4 separate regions of the Homo sapiens genome follow, and all the other regions are linked to region 1. Evidence: promoter capture Hi-C in 16 types of primary human blood cells and fetal thymus (Javierre and others, 2016). All regions are on one chromosome and are shown on one strand. The core of a region is centred on a gene start or on the middle of the fragment in contact, and the rest is flanking DNA. Distances in the headings are between cores, read along the strand shown. Region 1 holds the start of SPDYE4 (speedy/RINGO cell cycle regulator family member E4). Region 2 has its middle 19 kb from the start of ALOX15B. Region 3 holds the start of ALOX12B (arachidonate 12-lipoxygenase, 12R type). Region 4 has its middle 5.0 kb from the start of TRG-GCC2-6.

Region 1 (5,834 bases), core at 1,210-3,709:
CTCACGCCTGGAGTCCCAGCTATTGGAGAGGCCGAGGCGGGAGGATCACTTGAGCCCAGGAGGCTGAGGCTGCAGTGAGCTATGATGGCAACACTGCATTCCAGCCTGGGCAACAGAACGAGACCCTGTTTCTGAAAAAATAAAAATCAAAATGTGGGCGCCCAAGAGTATGGAATCAGCAGGTGGGAGATGGTAGAGGGAGAGAGGAGAGAAACTGTGGGTTTAGACGCTGCACCCTTCCCCAGGACGTGTGTTAAAGCAGGAACACAGTTGAGTGGAGAACAACCTTACCTTGTCTGACACCCTCAGGTCTTTGTCCCAGGCCAGGAATTTTTGAACGACAGGATCCCCTGTGAAAAGAGAGCCTGTGTCAGGGTGAGAAGTGGAACAGGGTTGCCGTGGGAGCAGCAGAGCAGAGAGGAGAACTGTGTCCCTCTGGGGGAAGTCTCAGGATTGTGGCCAAGGCTTAGGTGGATGGGAGAGGAGAGAAGGACTTTCACTGGGCAAGGAGGGAGGCTCCCGCTCTGAGATTCCCCTGAGGAGAGGCCGAAGGAGGCCTCTGGTGTCAGAGTCTACAGGATGAAGAGCTGTGAATAAGCCATGATGTCCTCCCATCAGACAGGAAGGGACCACTGCAGAAGTCATAATAGAATTCCCATCATTGCTTCCTGAGATAGTCACAGCTGGGTGTGCCCATGGCCTTGTTATCCCCCTCCACGGATGGAGACACTTAGGTTTAGAAAAGTCATCAAGAGACATAGAGTTTCAGAGGGTACAGCTGAAACCAAGCTTTCTTTTATCTTTTATTTTATTTTATTTTATTTATTTTATGACAGGGTCTTTCCTTGTCAACCAGGCTGGAGTGCAGTGGTGCAATCATAGCTCATTGCAACTTCAAACTCCTGAGTTCAAGAGATCCTCCCGCCTCAGCCTCCCAAAGCACCAAGATCTCAGGCATGAGCCACTGCACCTGGCCAGAAACCAAGCTTTCTTATTTCAAGTGCAGACCTTTATTAAGACTAGCCTAATCCTCTATCTCCTAAGCATCCTCCTCCTGCATGGAGCGCTCATCCCCCAGGAGGGCATATTCTTCTTATTGGGAAAGTGTGATTATTGAAAGATTCCACTTTTTTAAAAGAACAGGGTTGGAGGTGCTTTTTGGGGTATCCTCCTACCAAGGAGCCTGTTGAAGGCCTCGTGGTGCTCAGGGAGCACGGAGGATGCTCGCTTTCGCTTCAGCTTCATCTTGAGCCCACACAGCGTCTCCACCACCCAGGTGTCCTCGGGCTCAGGGGCGCGCTCCAACTCCAGCTCCTCCTCCAGCTCCTCCTCGGATTCGTCTGACCATTCGCTCTTCCTTTTCAGGCCAAGGGATTGAGGCTGGGGGCTGGGATCTATCCAAGGGGCTGAGTGAAGAAACCAGGCCATGGTGTCATGTTTCTGCCATTGATCACCTTAGACGCCCCGACCCAGGAACCTCAAACTACTCTTCCATCCTCCCAAGCCTCGCAGACTGTCAGCTTCTCCAAGCCATGTTTCCACCTTTCTCCTTTGCTGATCCCCATCTGCCTCTCCCTCACCTCCCCATTCTTCCGGCTCTCTGTCCTCAAAACATTTCCTCATCACAGATAAGAACTTTCAATTGGAGAAAAATGGAAACCTTCCCTTGAGCTCTGTCTGCTCTCTCTCTCTCTCTCTCTTTTTTTTTTTTTTGAGATGGAGTCTCCCTCTTGTTGCCCAGACCGGAGTGCAGTGGCACAATCTTGGTTCACTGCAACCTCCGCCTCCTGGGTTCAAATGATTCTCCTGCCTCAGCCTCTTGAGTAGCTGGGACTACAGGCACGCACCACCATGCCCAACTCACTTTTGTATTTTTGGTAGAGACAGGGTTTCATCGTGTTAACCAGGATGGTCTCGATCTTCTGACCTCGTGATCCGTCCGCCTCGGCCTTCCTCTCTCATCTTTTGAGCACATCTCCTGACCCCCTTCATTGCTCCCCAGACTTTCTTTACACGTGGCCATGCTTGGCCCCATTCCCTGCACCCTCCTTCCCCGATCCCTGGCTTCCTGAGTCCGTCGTTTCTTTCCCACACACCCTACTCAGGTGCTTCAGATTCCCAGTAACTGGCCCCCTTCCCTCTCCTCAGTCAATCATCTCCCATCGCTTCTCCCTCCAGTCACCTCACCTGATGGTCCTGGCACTTCATCATCCACCACCACCTCGGGGGACCGTACCGTTGTGCTAGGCTGGGGGCTCTCCTCCTCAAACGGGGGGCGCGCTTGACCACTGGCCATAATCTCTCCCAAACACTTTGTTTCTGTCCACAAAACCTAGTCCCTGTTCTGTCCAAAGCCTTCTTCCAGACTCCGTTAGGACCCAGAAGAGTGCGTTTCTCTTCTAGAGGCTCGGGAGAAGTTAGGAGTGAAGAGTAGTTCTGAGAAGTTGCTGTTGTCCACCTGAACTCCCAAGCAACCAGAGTCCGGTCCTTCCAATCAGGAAAGTCGGAATCTCTGATGTCATCGGTCATTCCAAACTGGCAACTACTTTGAAGAAAAACACATGTAACTGCCAGACTGATCTCTTTTCTTGGAGATCCGGGGTGAACGGTATCTCCTGGCAATGTCCCAACCTCTGAGCATTGTCCAAAAGCATCCTCAGGGTCTCCACATTCCTCTTTTCCCTGTCCCAGCAGAGGCTGTGTCCTCTCCACTCTAAACTTGAGGGGGTGTTGGGCTCTCCTCCCCGCTTCTCCTTCCCATTTCAGAGTCTAGTCTGGTGAGAGAGGGAGGAAGGTGGAAGGAAATTTAGGGTAAGCAGAATGATGAGTCCTTCCAAGAGTGAGATTAACATATACAGGAGATCCTGGGTAAATTGACTTGTTGAATGGAGACGTTACGTCGAAGTACTCAATGTGGCAAAGCTTTTTTGCTGAATGTTTACTGATATTCACTATCCTGGATCCTATAGTAGGGGAACATGCATCCTTTGCTCTCAGGCATCTTTGAGTCCAAGAGACATTTTGAGGAATGAAAATCACAGGAGACTGTCCATGGTTTCGTACAGATTTTCAATGGTGTCCACAAGTTCAGGGCATCCATGGATCACCTAAAGCCTGCCCTCCAGTTCAGCTAAGGAACTCTGGTCTATATATCAACTATTACAACATATCTATTTCACTTGACCCCAAAATTTGCCTACTATTTATGTATTTTATGAATAAAATATCCTGTGTATAAAAAGACTAAGGGGAAAATCTCAGCCAGGCCCAGGGGCTCCTGCTCATAATCTCCCTCCTTTGGGAGGCCAAGGCAGGGCGTCACTTGAGGTTAGGAGTTCAAGATTAGTCTGGGCAACATAGCAAAACGTCATCTCTACAAAATATAAACAAAGTAATCAGGAATCGTGGCACACACCTGTGGTCCCAGTACTTGGGAGGCTGAGGCAGGAGGATTGCTTCAGCCCAAGTGTTTGAGGCTGCAGTGAGCTATGATTGCACCACTGCACACCAGCCTGGAGGACAGAGTGAGACTCAGTCTCAAAAATATTTTTTTCGGAAAAAATAAAAATGTAAGAGCTGGATACTATCTCAGATACCATCCAAAGAACCTGTGAGTTCTGGCACAGCTTCCTAATGGGCTCCTAGGAGTCTCTCGCTGATGGGAAAGGCACAACTGAATGAGGAGGCAGATCCCGTCGCTGTGGAAGTCCAATTGTTAGGAAACTCTGCTTACATTGAGTGGACCTTCGCATTCACGATGCTTTCAACCATCAGAACTGGTTGGATCCTTTTACAACAAAACAGAAAATCATCTTTCTCTCCTATTTAATAGGCTTTCAAACATTAGAAGATCAATATTCTGTTGCCATTAAAATTTCTCTTCTGTACCACGTAAAGTTCTGATTAATCACTCTTCAAGCCAGTTTTACATATTCCTCTGTCTTCTAGGCACCTTCTGTAGACAGGCTACAATAAGGCAGCCATCTTAAATTATGTCAATACATTGTCCAAAAATGAGCTAAACAGTTCAGGTTTCATCTGATATGTTCAGGGAAAAGCAAAACTATCACTTCTCCCCTTCTCTTTTCCTTCAGTGATGCAGGTTAATACAACAATGGCTGTAGCTATGCACCAAAGATATCATTAGAGTGAAACAGAAGGGCTTTATTGGCTGGCATGGTGGCTCCTGCCTGTCATCCCTACACTTTGGGAGGCCAAGGCTGGAGAATCACTTGAACCCAGGAGTTGGAGATGAGTCTGAGTAACGTTGTGAGACTCCGTCTCTCCAAAAAAATTTAAAATTAGCCTGGTGTGGTGGCACACACCTGTAGTCCCAGCTAGTTCGGAGGCTGAGTTTGGAGGAGAAGAAGTGCTTTGCAAATACCAGCCTTTCAGCCTAAGGATCTCAACTAGGAACATTAAGATACAGATGCCAGGACCCAGCCCCACAGATTCTAATTCCAAAGGACTGAGGTGGGGGCTGATTTAACTTCATCATTGGAGTCCATTCAGATTTGGAACTCTCTGGGTGGGGCAGCGCAATAGAGATCCCAAAGAAAGCAAAATCACTCTCGAATGAAATGAGCAGGAAAGATTTTTTGAGCGAGGTAAGTAAGACCTGGGCCTCACATGGGAGGGCTGTCACCAGGCTTTGTATCCTTGGCTTAGTGGGAACTTTTGAAGCAGCCTCCAAGGCCCCTGTATGCTGGTCGACAAGCCCCCTAACATTGGCTCACAACTGTAATTCCAGCACTTTGGGAGGCCAAGGCAGGAGGATTGCTTGAGCGCAGCAGTGCAAGACCAGCCTGGGCAACTTGGCGAAACCCTGTCTCCACCAAAGTATAAAAAACTAGCCTGGGTGTGGTGGCGCATGCCTGTACTGCCAGCTACTCAGGAGGTTGAAGTGGGAGGATCATTTGAGCCTGGGAGGCGAAGGCTGCAGTGAGGCGAGTTAACGCCACTGCACTCAAGCCTGGGTGACAGAGTGAGACTGCATCTCAATTAAAAGAAGAAACACTAAAAATTTTCACTGAGAATATAAAAGAACTGAATAGAGACTTACAAAATGTCTAAATGATGTTTCAATATGGTAAAACTGTACATTCAATCCAAATGAATTTAGGAATTTAATGCGATTGCAATCAGAATCTCAAAGAGTTTTTCCCCCCGCAGATGTTGACAGAACAATGTAAAAGTTTATCTAGAGAATTGAGTACTTAAGGAACCATCACAAAAGAAGAATGAGAGGGAATGTCCACTGCCAGACACCAAAATGTGTTCTAAGGTGAAAGTGTTAAAACAGCATGTTGCTAGTGTCACTCCGGCAAAATCCTCAAGTGCTCTAAGAGCTTGGGCAAGTATCTTGCTCTAAGATAGCCCTGACTTTGTGAGCTGCCTAAAGGCATGAAAATCCACAATTTTCAAAGACACTTCTGACCAAAACCAAAACAAGACCAAACACAAATCTGGATCTGGAGGCCTGAAACGGGTTACAGGGTCCCAGTTTATGATCCTTGATACAATCAAGAGAATAGAAAGTTCAGAATAAACCCAAGTTTCTATAGGAATGCATTAAATGCTGTCATGGCATATCCCAGTGGGGAAAGTAGAGATTAAGCCACAAATCATGCGATCACAACTAGCTCATTATTTGGAAAACAGACATATACAAATCAAATTCCAGGTGGATTTATTTAAATGGGAAATTAAATGTTCAATGTGAAAATTCATTCTGTAGCAGGATATCCAATGGAAAGGATACTTTTCTGTTTTTTGCCACTGGTGAGAGAGCTGCCAGAACACAGCCTTCATCCTCAGAAGTCACAAGGCTCACA
Region 2 (5,834 bases), core at 1,983-4,482, 700 kb before region 1:
TTCTTTAATTTTTGGTTTTCCTTCTTTCTTTTTTTTGGGGGGGTGGTTTCTGGTTTTTGAGACAGAGTCTCACTGTGTCACCCAGACTGGAGTGCAATGGTGCCATCTCAGCTCACTGCAACCTCCGCGTCCCGGGTTCAAGAGATTCTCCTGCCTCAGCCTTCCAAATAGCTGGGATTACAGGCACCCACCACCACACCCGGCTAATTTTTGTATTTTTAGTGGAGACGGGGTTTCGCCATATTGACCAGGCTGATCTCGAACTCCTGACCTCAAGTGATCCTCCCACCTCGGCCTCCCAAAGTGCTGGGAGGGATGCTTTATTTTCTAGCACGGCATACCACTGTTTGACTTTTCTGTGTGTTATTAATAAAGGCCTCGATTTATGTGAAGTTCATGTAAATGATTTGTTCCTTTTTTTAAAAGCAAATAAACTGGAGATTATAGTTCATTGCTCTGTAGAATGTTGACTAGTTTCATATCTAACCCAACAATCGTGTCCTAACATTCCTTTATTAAATTGCCTGTAAGTGCCCGGCTCCTCAATTGTTCTTGAAACCAGCATGACCATCTGGCTGAGTCGAATAAAATATTTGACTTGTGAACATTCTAATTTGTATGAACCATGTTTTTAATTTGTTTGAAATCCCTCCCAGGGTGGAGGGAGAGCTGCTTGTGCCACCCCAGAACAGTGCCTAGAACCCCAATCCCTTCTTCTCTCTGCCAGGTCCTCTTCCAGCCTCCTCTTTATCTTTGTGCCCGCCTTCCCCTCACCGCACCCCCATCCATGTTGGACATCCCAGGGGTGCCTTTGCTCACTACCCCAGGGAATGAGAAACAGACTCTTCTGTCCCCACCCGCATCCCCCACTGACCTAAGAAGGTGCTGAAGCCTGGGACAGAGACAAAAGTGGCAGAAATGGAGAGGGATGTGTGGGTTGAAATAGGGGGCTTGGATGTGGGCCCAGGTGGTTGAGGACCAGCCTACACTGTGCCCATTTAAAGATTAATAGTATATGCTTTAGAATAGTGCTTTACTAATATGATTATGAATCATAAGTATAATAGCTTGTGCTTAGTACAACAATAAGAGAATCAGGCGGTGAGCTTGCTTGACTGACCACAGAGTGGAACAAACAACCACAGGAAGTCTGCGGAGCCTCTGAGCAAGAAAGTTGGCTTATTGCTCAACCTTCCACTTGAGTGCCTGAACAAAGGTCTCATGGGAAGGGAAGCGACCCCTGCTCCATTACCCGGGAGGGTACTGCAGGAGGCTGCTGGTAAAAGAGGAGAAGTCCTCTGCAGTAGGGTTAAGGAGGAAGCCTCCTATCTCCCGCATGTTCCCAGAGGCAAAGCAGCTGCTCTGCTGACGGTGCTCAGGCGTTGACCACTCCTTTGATGTACAGGCCTGTGGGTTTGAAGGGCTGTTTGCTTTCACGTCCTGTTCTGTTCTATTAGCCGCTTAGTTGGACTCTGATGATTATCTGTAAGTTAAACATAGAGTATTAGCTTACGTAGTGGAACAGTAAATAGTATTAACTGGCTAATGACCGACACAGCAGGCTCCGCCACCTCTCCCTATGCTCACCCAATGATCACCTCACCATCAGCCCACCCTCAGCCTATAGGATCAAAGGAACTGTACTCAATAAATATCAGTGGAACCCAGAGCTCCTGGCCTTTGCAATCTCCACGTTGCGATGGATCCTTGGACCCACTTTTGTTAACTCTTAAACTTTGTGTCTTTGTCTTTATTTCTTTTCTCATTCCCTCGTCTCCACCGGGAAGGGGAGAGCCTGCGGGTGGTGTATCAGGCAGGTTCCCCTACATCTTTGGCACCCAACACGGTCTCCTTGAACCCAGGTGAAGTTACACCTGAGCGTGGTCGTTGTGAAGAACGGTCTGTCCAGGAACTCCCGAGAACGTGTGGTCGGCCTTGCGGTAAGCTTGTGCACTCGGAGCATTCCAGGGACACCATGGGACAATCCAAAAGTAAACATTCTGCATATTTACATTTTATTAAGCTCCTCTTAAAGAGGGCAGGAATTAAGGCTAGCACAGAAAATTTGATTACTCTGTTTCCAACAGTAGAGCAATATCGTCCTTGGTTTCCTGAACATGGTACCATGGACTTCAAAGATTGGGAACAGGTGGGAATTGCCTTAAAACAAGTTTGTAAGGAAGGAAAATTTATCCCCCTAACAGCCTGGTCAAACTGGGCTATAGTTAAAGCAGCCTCGGAACCGTTTCAATCGGAAAATGAGGCTTATCCTCCAGCAGAAAGAATTTCTGCAGAGGAAGGTGGTGATGCTGCTGAAGGAGGAGAGGATAGTGAAGAAGATTTTGAGGAAAATACAGACAAACCTGGAGATGAGTTAATTTCTTTTGAGGAGCACGTGGGACCTTCAGCTGCTCCTAAAATAGAGAAGCCATATATGCCAAGATGTTTAAAACAAAGAAGGGCCTTGAGGAGCAGTCGGCTCCTCATTGGGATCATCCGGAGTGGCCGCCTCCAATAAAGCAATGTAGCTTGGAGCCTTGGAGGTCTGAATCTCAAATTTGCCCTGTTTCACGAATGAATGAATTGTGGCCTCAGGAACCACGAGCGCATGGTGTAGCACCAGTACAACATAAGGCTGCACTGCCATCTAATGTTAATGAATCGCCATTACAGTTTACTATTCGGCAGGCTAGATTAGCCGGAGATCTTGATGCCTGGCAGTTTGCAGTAGTTTTGCAACCCCCACGACAGCAAGGTGGAGCCCATCAAGCGGTATGGGAACCATTTTCTTTTAAGCTGCTCAAAGATCTTAAAGCAGCTGTTGGTCAGTATGGTCCCAATTCGCCTTTCATCCGATCGCTATTGCAATCTGTGGCTCAGAATAAGCTATTGACTCCGTGTGATTGGGAGATTTTAACGAAAGTTACACTTTCGCCCTCCCAATTTCTTCAGTTTAAGACTTGGTGGACCGACGAGGCTCAAAATCAAGATCGAAAAAACCGTGCTGCTAATCCTGCTATTGCCATTACATTTGAACAACTTCTAGGAATAGGGGGTCAATGGGGAACTGTAAACAACCATCAGGACTTCGAGATGATGCCATTGAACAAATTCGCAATTGCTGTTTGAGGGCATGGGAGAAAATTCAGGATCTGGGAACTACTTATCAGTCTTTTAATTCTATTAGACAAGGCTCAAAGGAACCATATCCTGATTTCATTGCTCGCCTTCAAGACGCAGCACAGAAGGCTCTCACTGATGAAAGTGCCAGGAAGGCCGGGTGCGGTGGCTCATGCCTGTAATCCCAGCACTTTGGGAGGCCGAGGTGGGCGGATCACCTGAGGTCGGGAGTTGGAGACCAGCCTGACCAACATGGAGAAACCCCGTCTCTACTAAAAATATAAAAATTAGCCGGGCGTGATGGCACATGTCTGTAATCCCAGCTACTCAGGAGGCTGAGGCAGGAGAATTGCTTGAACCCAGGAGGCGGAGGTTGCGGTGAGCCGAGATCACGCCACTGCACTCCAGCCTGGGTAACAAGAGCGAAACTCCGCCTCAAAAAAAAAAAAAAAAAAAGAAAGAAAGAAAGAAAGTGCCAGGAAGGTGATTGTAGAATTATTGGCTTGTGAGAATACTAACCCTGAATGCCAGTCAGCTATTCACCCAGTGAAAGGAAAGGTTCCGGTGGGAGTTGATGTGATTAATGAATATATCAGGGCATGTAATGGAGTTGGTGGAATCATGCATAAGGCTATGATAATGGTTCAAGCCACGACAGAGTTAAAAGTGGGAGGTCCAATTAAAAACTTTTCAGGCAATTGTTACAATTGTGGGCAATTTGGACACACAAAAAAGGAACGTAAGAACAAATCGAACAAACAGGCAAGATATAATCAAATAAAAGAACCACCTGGCTTATGTCCCAGGTGCCAGAAGGGTAAACATTGGGCTAATCAGTGTCACTTCAAATTTGACAAAAATGGCCAACCGTTACAACCGCAGTCGGGAAACAGGAAGAGGGGCCAGCCTCAGGCCCCGCTCCAAACGGGGGCATTCTCACTCCAGCAGTTGGTCCCTCAGTCGGTCATTGCCTCTAGTCCAACCACCATCATTGTCTCTTGCCCAACCACCACAGTAACACAATTGGCGCCAGCTACAGCAGGGAGTACAGGCTTAGATTTATGTTTCCCAAAAGCTATCTCTCTGCTTCCAGGGAAATCCCCTCAAAAAGTCCCCACTGGAGTATTTGGCCCTTTACCTGATGGACAGTTGGACTTGTTTTAGGAACATCTAGTCTAAACTTAAAAGGAGTTCAGATTCATACTGGGCTGATTGATTCAGATTTTGTGGGAGAAATTCAATTGGTTATTAGTTCCAGTATTCCTTGGAGTGCAAACCCAGGAGATAGAATTGCTCAGCTGTTGTTATTACCTTATGTAATAGTAGAAAAAAGTACAGTAAAAAGAGAAAGTGGTTTTGGCAGTACTGACAGTGAAGGAAAAGCAGCCTATTGAGTAAATCAAGCTTCTAAAAACAGACCTGTGTGCACAATGATTCAGGGAAAACAGTTTGAAGGACTGGTAGACACAGGTGCTAATATTTCAATTATAGCTCTAAATCAGTGGCCAAAAGCGTGGCCCCGACAAAAGGCTTCTATGGGCTTGATTGGAGTAGGCACAGCATCTGAAGTCTATCAAAGTGCTACAATTTTACATCGTTTAAGACCAGATGGGCAGGAAGTCACCATCCAACCTATGATTACTTTCATTCCCATTAATTTGTAGGGGAGAGATTTGTTACAGCAATGGGGTACAGAAATCACCATTCCCCCTGCAATTTACAGTCCTGAGAGCCAAAGAATGATGACCAAAATGGGATATATTCCTGGGAAAGGATTAGGAAAAAAATGAGGACGGAATAACCCAGCCGATTGAGGTCTCAGTTAAATTTGACCGAAGAGGAATTGGATATCCTTCTTAGGTGCGGCCACTGTTGAGCCTCCAAAGCCCATTGCATTAAAACGGAAAACTCCAAAACCTGTTTGGGTTGATCAGTGGCCGCTTCCTCAACAAAAACTGGAGGCATTACATTCATTGGCAAAAGAACAATTAGACAAAGGACATATTGAACCATCTTTTTCACCATGGAACGCCCCAGTTTTTGTAATTCAGAAAAAATTCGCTAGATGGCGCATATTGACCGACTTATGAGCGGTTAACGCAGCCATTCAACCGATGGGAGCTCTCCAACCAGGGTTGCCATCTCCGGCCATGATCCCAAAAGAATGGCCGATGGTAATAATTGATCTAAAAGATTGTGTTTTTTACTATTCCTTTGGCTCCTCAGGATTTTGAGAAATTTGCATTTACAATACCTGCCATGAATAACAAGGAACCAGCTACTATATATCGATGGAAAGTTGTACCCCAAGGAATGTTAAATAGTCAAACTTTTGTTGGAAAGGTTATTCAGCTTGTCAGGGATCAGTTTCCTGATTGCTATATTATTCATTATGTTGATGACATTTTATGTGCTGCTGCAAGCAGGGACAGACGGATTGAGTGTTTTGCTAGGCTACAAGAAGTGGTGGGACTTACAGGTCTCGCTATAGCACCAGATAAAATCCATACTACACCCTATCATTACCTGGGAATGAGGGTACAGGAGAAAACAGTAAAGCCTCAAAAGGAGGAAATTCGTAAAGAGTCCTTAAAAACCTTAAATGATTTCCAAAAATTATTAGGGGACGTTAATTGGATAAGACCTACTTTAGGAATTCCCACCTAAGCAATGTCTAAACTGTTTGCTTTGCTGAGATGGGATCCAAATTCATG
Region 3 (5,834 bases), core at 114-2,613, 670 kb before region 1:
GGATATTGACCTGATCATTGAGCTTCCTTCTGACTTCTCCAGCTTGGGGGTCTCCTACTGGATTCCTCTACCCAGGGCTATGTAGGACTCCAGCCCCTCCTTCTCTCCATCCCCAGCTCCTGTCTTCTCCCACTCCCCTCTCCAGGCACCTGAGGTTGCAGGAACCCTTCAGACCCCTGGGGACTTGGGTACCACTCTACAGTTTTCGAGTGGGGAGAGGCCCAGCCAGCCCCTTCTCCCATTCATCAATGAAGATGCAGATATTCAGAATGGCCACATAGATAGAGTGACCTATTAAGGTCGCCTAGCAGCAGGTGGCTGGGTCTGACTGAAAATCAGGTCTGAGGACCCGCAAAGCGTGCCTTCCACTGGACAGGCTGGTCTGATGCCATTTTAAGTCACAGAGAATCCAGTGCAAATGTGAGACAGTTAGGAGGCAGCTGAATTAGGAAGAGTGACTGAGAATGGAAGAGAGAGGGATGCGGGAGAGGGGGTAAGACAGAAAGGGGAGGAGAGCAAAGGGGAAGGAAAGCAGGTGGAAAGGATTGAGAAAAGAGAGATGCAGGATAGGCAGAGACAGGGAGAGAGGGCTGAGGAAGAGGGAGAGAGAAGAAAAGGATGGGGAGGGAGATGAGGAATGCCTGAAAGGGTTAGAGATGAAGGAGCAGGATGGAGAAGGATGGCCCAGAGATCTGGGACATGGGCGAGGGGCTGGAAGCCAGCTCTGGACAAGGCGTGTAGAGCCACTGGGGAGCCCACTGCCTTCGGAGCTGTGCCTCAGCTCTCCAGCCTCTCCTCGCCAAGCTCAGCTCACCTGGCTCCCCCTGCGCACCTTCACCCCTCCCGGGGCCACAAAGACACACAGACACACACAGACACACACAGACACACACACACACACACACAGACACACACACACACACACACACACACACACTCTTACCGCCCCAGTTGCAAAGTCTCTCCCAAAGTGGTTCAGCAGCTGCTTATGGCTCTCTCCTTGTGTCCCCACAATGGTCAGTGAGATGGAGTCCCGTGTTCCCGACAAGAGGTCGGTGCCTGTGGCCACCCTGACTTTGTAGGTGGCCATGGCTGCTCTTCAGGAGGCAAGAGGGGCACTCAGTCCCAGACACCGTGGAGGGGCCACACGAAGGCCCAAGGCAGGCAAGAGAAGCCAGGCACAGAGTGGAGTGGACAGGGCTGGCCTCCGAGGTGCAGTGGTGAGGTGGCGAGGTGGGGTGACTAGGCCTGCCAGCCAAATTCTGGAAAAGCTGCTGCCCTTGGTGGCCGGGGTGGGTGCCGGGCAGGCCCAGGCGGAGCCCAGCTGGTGGTGAGTGAGCAGGTGTCTGGGCTCCAAGCCTTCTGGGAGCTGGTGGGGAGGAAGAGCAGGCAGGGCACTGGGCCTGCCTCTGAAAGGGCGGATAGAAGATGCCGTGGATGAAGGCGCCTTCAGGGTGGGGGAGCCAGTCCAGCCTGAGCCAGGGCCCTAGGGAAGTTGCGGGAGGGGGCAGGGTGTGGTCCCCAGATCTTTATCAGACTAATAAGCTCCTTCCTCCTGCCAGTCCCCATTGGCTACAGTGCCAGGCACCCCTACTAAGCAGGGCCATGGGCAGTGAGTGACTTGCATTGGTTCTGAGGCCACTGGTGGGCGGGGGAGGGGAGGGGGAGGGGCACTAAGTGGCAGCGCAGCTGGCCAGCCTCCAGGCCATTCCTCTCTGGGAAATGGGACAGGTAGTGGCCACAGTGAGAAAGCTGGCCTGTCCTTCTGCCCCAGGGCCCAGAGTCTGTGACTGGAAGGGTGGGAGGTGTTGAAGCTAGGGCTCGGGGACCACATGGGTGCCCAAAGGCCTGAAGATGCTGCGGGGAGGAACGATCAGGGTAGGAGAAGGGGATCTGTTGCTTCCTGTGGGGCCAGGATCCACTGGTGAGGGATTGGAGTTGGATATAAAATCAGAAGCCCAAAAAAAAAAAAAAAAAAACTAAATTAGAAGACAGAGTGAAATCTGGGGCATAAGAATTAAGTTAAATAGCTGGGCGTGGTGGCTCACGCCTGTAATCCCAGCACTTTAGAAAGCCAAGGCAGGTGGGTCACCTGAGCTCAAGAGTTCGAGACCAGCCTGGCCAACATGGTGAAACCTTGTCTCTACTAAAAATACAAAAATTAGCCAGGCGTGGTGGCATGCGCCTGTAGTCCCAGCTACTTGGGAGGCTGAGGCAGGAGAATCGCTTGAACTCAGGAGGCGGAAGTTGCAGTGAGTTGAGATCGTGCCACCGCACTCCAGCCTGGGCAACAGAGCAAGACTCCGTCTCCAAAAAAAAAAGACAAAAGAATTAAGTTAAATAATGGATTAATATGATCAATATTTTGTGGTATAATCATAAAATAGAATTCTACCCAGGAATAAAAAGAATGAACTGCAATGCGGATGAGTCTCACAAAGATGATACTGAGCAAAAAGAGCCAGACATTAAAGGGGATACGTTCTGTTATCCATTGATAGGAACTTCCAGAACCAGCAAAACTGAGCAATTCTCAGACAACCTCTACTGGTGAGTATCCCTGGCAGAGGGAGGCCATATAGGCTGCTGGAGGTGTTCTTATCTTGATCTGAGGGGCGTCTAGGGTACTTCATTCATTTCATTATGTGTTATCCTTTAATTTCATAAAGTACATACCCTCACTTCCCTCCCAAAAAAGAATGAAGCTAGGAAGAGGGCTGGAGGCAGGGCTGAGCTCCAGTGGAACTGTGTTTGTTGGGAACCAGGTCGTTCCTCCCTCAGATATGTAGTGAGCACGGTGCACGGCGTTCTAGGCACTGCAGAGGCAGAGAAGAAATGAAACATACATGGAGCTTACGGAATAGCTGGGAAAGAAGTGAAAGAAACAGTAAACAAGAATTTGTTCACTATAATTTTGGATACTAAGTGCTCTGAAGAAAATAAGCGTGGGAGGTTGGGATTGGGAACTAGTTGCTGATAGAATCACAGAAGTCAGAGCCGCAGGATAGGGAGAAGGTGTTAGGAGTAAGGTGAAGAGCATTATGAGAGAGTCAGAGATAGACTCTCCAAAGATAGGATTTGGGACCCAGGGAGAGTGAGGAGGCAGGCACGTTCCTATTCCCTTTTTCTGGACCTGTCCTCTTTCCTTTCACCTCCGAGGAGCAGCTTCTGTCAACCAGGAAGCATAGCCCTGCTTTCCTCCCTGATGGCACGCTTCCATCACCATCGAAGGAAGGTCATTCAATGCCCAGGCCAAGTTAGGGTCAGAGGGGGCTGGGATTGTGAGATGAAGAGAAGGTTCCAGTAGGTTCCAGACTGGATGTGGAATGGGGTCGAAACTGCAATTCAGGTTTAGGTTAGAGACACAGATGTGGCTGGAGTTGGGGATTGAAATGATCTTTTCCAGACCCAAATCTGTTCACATCACTCTCTATGTTCCCTCCTCCCAACCCTGATCAAGCCTGGCAGTGGCTCCTCTTTACCTTTGGGACAGTGACACCATCCCCTCCCGTGGCCCCCACGGCCTGCCTGATTGGCTTCACCCCTCACATTCCCCTTTGCTCTCTTCTGTCTGGGACCACGTGCCTTTCATTCATTCATCAACAGACACTGGCCGAACCCCTACTGTGTGTTCAGCGCTGTGTCAGGTCCTGAAAATACAATGCGATCAAAGCAAACCCCTGCACCCATGGAGCTTGCCTTCAAGTGAGGGAAGCAGACAATATTACCTAGTAACCAAATACATTAAATAGTATGTTAAATAGTGATAAGTGCTGAAGAGAAAAGAGAGAACAGGGAAGGATAATATAAAAAATAGAGGAGTGCCGGGCATGGTGGCTCATGCCTGTAATCCCAGCACTTTGGGAGGCTGAGGTGGGCGGATCACCTGAGGTCAGGAGTTCGGGACCAGCCTGACCAACATGGAGTAACCCCGTCTCTACTAAAAATAAAAATTAGCCGGGCATGGTGGCGCATGCCTGTAATCCCAGCTACTCGGGGGCTGAGGCAGGAGAATAGCTTGAACCCAGGAAGCAGAGGTTGCAGTGAGCCAAGGTCATGCCATTGCTATCAAGCCTGGGCAACAAAAGCGAAAATCCATCTCAGAAAAAAGAAAAGGAGGATATTTTAGATACAGAGTGGCCAAGGAGGGCTCCTTGGGAAGAAGACTTTTGAGTAAAGACCTGAAGGAAGTGAAGTCAGCTCGTCACCATCCCAGGGCCTTGGCACATGCTGTTCCCTCTCTACCTCTCAAACTGAGGTCACGTTTCCTCTTCCTCCTGATCTTAGCTCAATAATTGCTTTTTCCAGGAAAGCCAAATTTCACTATACATGGCTCTCACAGCACTATAGCTAACATCTTTGATTGATGTCTGTTTTCTCTAATAAATTAGTCCATACTTTTTTTTGGTTTTGTCCCCATCTCCTGGTGTCATACTTGGTACCTGGGAGACACCGAAAACATAGTTGAATGGGTTAATGACAAGGACAAGGTCAGGGCTGGGGATTGAATCGATGATGGCTTTGGAGTTATGGTGAAGATCCGAAGAGAGCTGACTTGGGCTCAGGGTGAGAGAAGGGGCAAGGCGTGGTGTAGGGGAGGGAAAGGGGTTGGGTGGGGAGGGAGGGAGGAGAGGGGAGAAGGCTGAGGATGAGGGTTGTGCCCAGCTCTGGGTGGCAGGGCTGGCTGTCCTGGGCTGCAGACAGAAGCCGTCCAGCTGGATCTCCCCCCTGGGATCTCCCTCCTCAACCACCTCGATGACTCTTGGAGGATGCTGGGAGCCTGAAGATGCAAATCTTAAGATGCAAATTCCATGCAAATTCTCCCAGCTTCCTCTTTCTAATCTCTCCCCTTTGCCCTGTGTCCCCAGGGGGCTGCTGAGGCTTGGTGAGAAGCAGGGCAGTGGACTGGGCAAACTGAGTCATATCCTGCTACCAATAGGTCTCCTCCAACCCAAATCCCAGGGTGGCCCTGGGTTTGCTCAGGGCTCCAGTGTGGAGTGGGAATTAGGTTCCTGAGGGAGACGGAGATGGAGGCAGGGATGCTGAGGATGTCAATGTGGCTGGGGCAGGGACAGGGACGGGATCAGGCATGAGGATGTAGATGGGGCACTCCCCAGCTATGACCAAAACGTAGACGCGTGACTCTTGATAGGTGCTCATTGGGCTGAAGAACTGGTTCTCCTGGACCAGGGGCGGGAGCCAGTGAGGAGGAGAGGTTTCTGGGAAGGATTCACACTCACTGGGGTTGCTAACTAGGGGCCATCCACACAGGAAGCTGAGTTCTCACTGCTGGGGTATCCCCCGTGCCTGACCCCACCCCAAGCCCTGCAAGGCAAGGAGCAACTAACTCCTGGGGACCCACTCTCCTAAGACACAGAGAAAGAAAAATCAAATCACGCCACTCCCCTGCTTAAAGTTCACCAGAGCTTAAAATGGGGTTGTCCGTAGAAATGAATCCAAGGGCCAGGCGCGGTGGCTCATGCCCATAATCCCAGCACTTTGGGAGGCCAACACAGGCGGATCATGAGGTCGGGAGTTCAAGACCAGCCTGACCAACATGGTAAAACCCCGTCTCTACTAAAAATACAAAAATTAGCCGGGCGTTGTGGCACGCGCCTGTAATCCCAGCTATTCAGGAGGCTGAGACGGGAGAATCGCTTGAACAGGGGAGGTGGAGATTGCAGTAAGCCAAGATAGCGCCACTGCACTCCAGCCTGGGCAATAGAGAGAGACTCCGTCTCAAAAAAAAAAAAAAAGAAAGAAAGAAAGAAAGAAAAGAGACGAATCCAAGGACTTATCATGTCTACAAGACCATGCCTTCCCGACACCTTTTT
Region 4 (5,834 bases), core at 1,129-3,628, 630 kb before region 1:
GAGATCGCGCCACTGCACTCCAGCCTGGGTAACAGAGCGAGACTCCGTCTCAAAATAATAATAATAATTAATAAGATCACTTTGGACCGGACGCTGTGGCTCACGCCTGTAATCCCAGCACTTTGGGTGGCTGAGTCAGGCGGATCGCTTGAGCCCAGGAGTTCGAGACCAGCCTGGCCAACATGGCGAAACCCTGTCTCTATTAAAAATACAAAAATTAGCCGGGAGTGATGGCGTGGGCCTGTAATCCCAGCTACTTGGGAGGCTGAGGCAGGAGAATCGCTTGAACCCGGGAGGCGAGGTTGCAGTAAGCCGTAATCGCACCACTGCACTCTCGCCTGGCCAACAGACCCAGACTCTGTCTCAATGAAATAAAAAAGAAAAAAGAAAAAAAAATTAGCCAGGGGTGATGGTCCGCGCCTGAGAGGGGAGGCTGCAGTGAGCCAAGATCGCGCCACTGCTCTACAGCCTGGGCGACAGAGCGAGACTCTAGATAGATAGATAGATAGATAGATAGATAGATAGATAGATAGATAGATAGATAAAATTAAAAGATCGCTTTTGTTGCTATTTGGAGAATGAAGGCAGAGGGCTCATTCAGGGGGCTGAAGCAGTCTTTTAGGCAATGCCTTGAGGTGGTGGTGGGGAGAGAAAACATGAAGGGGTTACTCCTAGGTCTTTGTCTTAGGTAAGATCATGTATTTGCTTAACGTGCGGATATATTCAAAGAAATGCGTTGCTAGGCAATTTCATTATTCAGACATCACAGAGTGTAGTGATGTAAACCTAGATGGTAGAGCCTTCTACACACCTAGGCTACACTATACAGCCTATTGTGCTCCTAGGCTGCAAACCTGTACAGCTACAGCATGGTACTGTACTGAATGCTGGAGGCAATTGTACACAATTGTAAGCATTTGTGTACCTAAAAGGTAACGCATGGCACTACAATGTTATGATAGCTATGCCATCTTTGGGTGATAGGAATTTTTCGGGTTTTTTTTTCCTTTTTGTTTTGAGGCAGAGTCTCACTCAGTTGCCCAGGCTGGAGTGCAGTGGGGCGATCCCGGCTCACTGCAACCTCCGCCTGCCGGGTTCAAGCGATTCTCCTGCCTCAGGCTCCCGAGTAGCTGGGATTACAGGCCTGTGCCACCACACCCCACTAACTTTTGTATTTTTAGTAGAGACGGGGTTTCACCATGTTGCTCAGGCTGGTCTCGATCTCCTGACCTCGTTATCTGCCAGCCTCGGCCTCCCGAAGTGCTTATCACCGAGCCTGGCGATAAGGATTTTTTTTTAGCCCCATTATAATCTTGCTCTTGTTGCCCAGGACGGAGTGCAATGGTGGGATCTCGGCTCACTGCAACCTCTGCCTCCCGGGTTCAAGCGATTCTCCTGCCTCAGCCTCTCGAATAGCTGCTCGAATATCTGGGATTACAGGCATTAGCCACCACGCCCGGCTAATTTTTGTATTTTTAGTAGAAACAGGGTTTCACCATGTTGGCCAGGCTGGTATTGAACTCCTGACCTCAAGTGATCTGCCCGCCTTGGCCTCCCAAAGTGCTGGGATTACAGGCGTACGCCATTGCATCCGGCAATCCCCATTATAATCATATATATATATATGCAGTCCATCATTGACCAAAACATTGTTATGCAGCGCATGACTGTAACTGGGTAGACGGTGGTGGTGGCTTTTAACTGAGATGGGAAAACCTGTGGGGTCGGGGAGAGGTTTAGGAAGAGAAATCAAGCATTATACTTTAGCCATATTAGTTAAGACATCCTGGCCAGGCGCGGTGGCTCACTTCTGTAATCCCAGCACTTTGGGAGGCCAAGGCGGGTGGATCACGAGGTCAGGGGTTTGAGATCAACCTGGCCAACATGGTGAAACACCGTCTCTACTAAAAATACAAAAACTAGCTGGGTATGGTGGCATGCGCCTGTGGTCTCAGCTACTCCAGAGGCTGAGGCAGGAGAATCTCTTGAACCCGGGAGGCAGAGGTTGCAGTGAGCCTAGACTGCGCTATTGCACTCCAGCCTCGGCAACAGAGGAAGACTCCGCTCAAAAAAAAGATATCTAGGTGGAGGTCACACATAGGTTAGGGATATACAAGTTTGGAGATCAGAGCTGGAGGGTAAATACGCTGGAGTGATTGGGAGATAGACGTCTTTTAATGCTATAAGACTGGAGCACCTAGAGAGAAAATGTGGCGGGAAAAGACTGAACATGGGCCGGGTGTGTTGGCTCATGCCTGTAATCTTAGCACTTTGGGAGGCTGAGGCGGGTGGATCACCTAAGGTCAGGAGTTCGAGGCCAGCCTGCCCAACATGACAAAACCCCGTCTCCACAAAAAATAGAAAAATTATCTGGGCATAGTGACGCACGCCTGTAGTCCCAGCTACTCAGGAGGCTGAGGCAGGAGAATCGTTTGAGCCCGGGAGGCCAAGGTTGCAGTCAGCCGAGATTGAGCCACTGCACTCCAGCCTGGGCATGAGAATCTGTCTCAAACAAAAAAAAAAGAAAAAAGAAGAAGAAGAAAAGAAAAGGCTGAACATGGACCTCTGGGGCACCCCAACACCTAGAGATTGGTTGAGGAGGAAGAATTGGCAACGGAGACTAGAGCGGTCAGAGAGGCAACAGGAAAACCAGGGGGAGTGGGGTGTTCTGGAAATCCAGAAAAGAGGGTGTATGAAGAAGGAGATTTTGCTATCTATTCCACAGCATGGTTAGTAATAACGTATTGTATATTATGAAATTATTAAAAGTCTATTTTAAATGTTCTCACCACGAAAAAATAAATAGATGAGGTGATGGATGTGTTAATTAGCTTGATTTAATCATTCTACAATGTATCCTTATATGGAAACATCACATTTTACCCCATAAATATATATAATTATTTGTCAATTAAAAATAATAAGTGAGGCCGGGCTCAGGGGCTCACACCTGTAATCCCAGCACTTTGGGAGGGTGAGGTGGGCAGATCAGGAAGTCAGGAGATCGAGACCATCCTGGCTAACACGGTGAAACCCCGTCTCTACTAAAAATACAAAAAAGATTAGCCAGGCATGGTGGCAGGCACCTGTGATCCCAGCTACTCGGGAGGCTGAGGCAGGAGAATGGTGTGAACCCCGGATGCGGAGCTTGCAGTGAGCTGAGATAGCGCTGCTGCATGCTAGCCTGGGCAACAGAGCAAGACTCCATCTCAAAAATAATAATAATAATAAGTGAATGAACACTTTTTTCTTTTTTTAACCTGTATCCAACAAGAATAAGTAATTTTTTCCTTTTTCTTTTTTCTTTTTTTGAGACAGAGTCTCAAAAGTCTATTTTAAATGTTCTCACCACGAAAAAATAAGTAGATGAGGTGACGGATGTGTTAATTAGCTTGATTTAATCGTTCTACAATGTATCCTTATATGGAAACATCACATTTTACCCCATAAATACATATAATTATTTGTCAATTAAAAATAATAAGGGAGGCCGGGCACAGTGGCTCACACCTGTAATCCCAGCACTTTGGGAGGCTGAGGTGGGCAGATCTCAAAAAAAAAAAAAAAAAATTAGCCGAGCATGGTGGTGGTGCCTGTAATCCCAGCTTCTCGGGAGGCTGAGGCAGGAGAATTGCTTGAACCCGGGAGGTGGAGGTTGCGGTGAGCCGAGATCATGCCACTGCACTCCAGCCTGGGCAACAGCAAGACTCCGTCTCAAAAAAAACAAATTGTGCATACCTTCGGCATTTCACTGCAACTGACAAAGGCCAGTCTCTACTCTGGCTGCTCCTGCGGCCCGTCCATCACATCACCACTCATCCCCAGTGTTACAGTGGCTGGCTGTGAGCATTTTGGGGGATCTAGCTGTGGAGAAGGTGAGTTGGATTTGTGGGATACATTTAGATGATTTGTAGTCACTTCCATATATAGGTTTTTTTTGTTTTGGGGTTTTGGTGTTTTTGTTTGTTTGTTTTGCTTTGTTTTTGAGACAGGGTGTCTTGATCTGTCTGTCCCCCAGGCTGAAGTGCAGTGGTGGGACTGCAGCCTCAACCTCCAGGGCTCAAGCAATCCCCCTACATCAGCCTCTGGAGTAGCTGGAACAACAGATATGCACCACCACACCCAGGTATTTTTTTTTTTTAATTTTAATTTTTTGTGAGACTGGGGTCTCACTATGTTGCCCAGGCTTGTCTCAAGTGATCCTCCCATCTTGGCCTCCTAAAGTACTAGGATTACAGGCATGAGCCACGGTTCTCAGCCAATATTGAGTTAAGTTAGCCTCCTCATCTAGGGTAGGAATGGCTTCCAGGGATACTCCTATTTCCTTTGCCCAGTCACTAGGCTTCGTGCTGGAAGTGTGCAGGGCCAGAGACACATGTGATATGAATGTCTGATGGCTCTTGACATTATGAGTCATGGGTGGTAGAGGAGAAACAAGATTTGAAATATAGAGAGTTAGCAGCTAGTCTATGGAAAGTGCTATAGAGGTGTGTGGGCAGTAAGTACTACAAATAGCTGGCTGGGTGCAGTGGCTCACATATGAATCCCAGCACTTTGGGAGGTCAAGGCAGGTGGACTGCTTGAGTCCAGGAGTTTGAGACCAGCCTGGGCAACACGGTGAAACCTATCTCTGCTAAAAATACAAAAAAAAAAAAAAATTAGCCAGGTATGGTGGCCTGTTCCTGTTTCAGCTACTTGGAAGGCTGAGGTGAGAGAATCACCCGAGCTGGGGAAGTCGAGGCTGCAGTGAGCTGTAATTGTGCCACTGCACTCCAGCCTGGGCAACAGGAGTGAGACCTTGTCTCAAAGAAAAAAAATTAAAACTGTTAAGTTATTTTTCTGGACAGTGTGAAATTTTTGCCTTTTATTTTATTTTATTTTTACTTATTTATTTTTGAGACGGAGTCTTGCTCTGTCGCCCAGACTGGAGAGCAATGGCGCCATCTTGGCTCACTGCAACCTCCGCCTCCTGGGTTCAAGCGATTCTCCTGCCTCAGCCTCCTGAGTAGCTGGGATTATAGGCGCATGCCACCACGCCCAGCTAATTTTTGTATTTGTAGTAGAGATGGAGTTTCACCATGTTGGTCAGGCTGGTCTCGAACTCCTGACCTCATGATCCGCCCGCCTCAGCCTCCCAAAGTGCTGGGATTACAAGCATGAGCCACCGCTCCCGGCCTTTGTCACCTTTTAAAATTTGTAAGTTGTTGCCATCTCTCATTTCACTCTAAATATTACTTTTTGTACCTAATTTTGTACTTTTTCCCTTTTTTTTTTTCTTTTTCTTTTTTGAGATGAGGGTCTCAATATGTTGCCCAGGGTGGTCTCAAACTCTTGGCCTCAAGCGATCCTCTGGCCTTGGCTTCCCAAAGCGCTGGGATTCTAGGCCTGTGCCACAACACCTGGCCATATTTTTCCTTAAACACTTAAATAGTTGTTTCCCTCCACACCTCCCCCTTCTAAATCATTTAAGCTTCAGACTCCTGGACCTAGGTCTGGGTAATTTTCTGGAGCTCGTTGGTCCAGTGCAGATGTGGCCTATGAAGATGTTCTCCCACTCCTATCCCCAGCGTATCTGTGTCACAGAGTGTCAGTGGGGGTCTCCGTGTGGTTGCACGCCTCTGTGTCAGCGTGGGCCTGACACAGTTTGTGGCTGTGTCCATTTATACCGTGGCCTAATGGCGTGTGTGTGGACGTCTGAGCCTCCAGCCTCTTCCTGGCTGCCCTTTCAACAGTGGGCCACACTGGGGCTTGGGGGAGGGGAGCTCGTGTCCCACGTGCGCTGGGCTTAAGGAACGCAGGGGGTGGGGAAGGAACGGAGTAGCCGGTAGAGCATC

What was found. The method cuts DNA at HindIII sites, captures the fragments that hold promoters and counts their contacts. A CHiCAGO score of 5 or more calls a contact.
Region 2: a fragment that was not itself captured here is called in contact with the fragment with the promoter of SPDYE4 in region 1 in 2 of 17 cell types (total B cells and naive CD4 T cells); the score reaches 5.6 in total B cells.
Region 3: the fragment with the promoter of ALOX12B here is called in contact with the fragment with the promoter of SPDYE4 in region 1 in 4 of 17 cell types (erythroblasts, total CD4 T cells, naive CD8 T cells and 1 more); the score reaches 7.2 in erythroblasts.
Region 4: a fragment that was not itself captured here is called in contact with the fragment with the promoter of SPDYE4 in region 1 in 1 of 17 cell types (neutrophils); the score reaches 5.3 in neutrophils.

Annotation. Positions count from the first base shown.
Region 1 is chr17:8,756,087-8,761,920 of GRCh38, forward strand. SPDYE4 (speedy/RINGO cell cycle regulator family member E4) reads right to left here and starts at 2,460. Exons shown (of 7, transcript NM_001394956.1): 1 at 2,188-2,460; 2 at 1,176-1,406; 3 at 292-350. The coding sequence starts at 2,296. The HindIII fragment of the contact is 1,936 bases long and covers 985-2,920 here.
Region 2 is chr17:8,055,209-8,061,042 of GRCh38, forward strand. No RefSeq gene overlaps it. Among named protein-coding and RNA genes, the nearest start is that of ALOX15B, 19 kb to the left of the region's middle. RefSeq lists enhancers at 2,469-2,986, 2,470-2,539. The HindIII fragment of the contact is 2,579 bases long and covers 1,944-4,522 here.
Region 3 is chr17:8,086,353-8,092,186 of GRCh38, forward strand. ALOX12B (arachidonate 12-lipoxygenase, 12R type) reads right to left here and starts at 1,364. Exons shown (of 15, transcript NM_001139.3): 1 at 944-1,364. The coding sequence starts at 1,090. MIR4314 (microRNA 4314) reads left to right here and starts at 1,704; the gene lies at 1,704-1,795. RefSeq lists an enhancer at 392-1,140. The HindIII fragment of the contact is 26,367 bases long and covers 1-5,834 here.
Region 4 is chr17:8,127,819-8,133,652 of GRCh38, forward strand. No RefSeq gene overlaps it. Among named protein-coding and RNA genes, the nearest start is that of TRG-GCC2-6, 5.0 kb to the left of the region's middle. RefSeq lists an enhancer at 5,787-5,834. The HindIII fragment of the contact is 6,180 bases long and covers 1-5,468 here.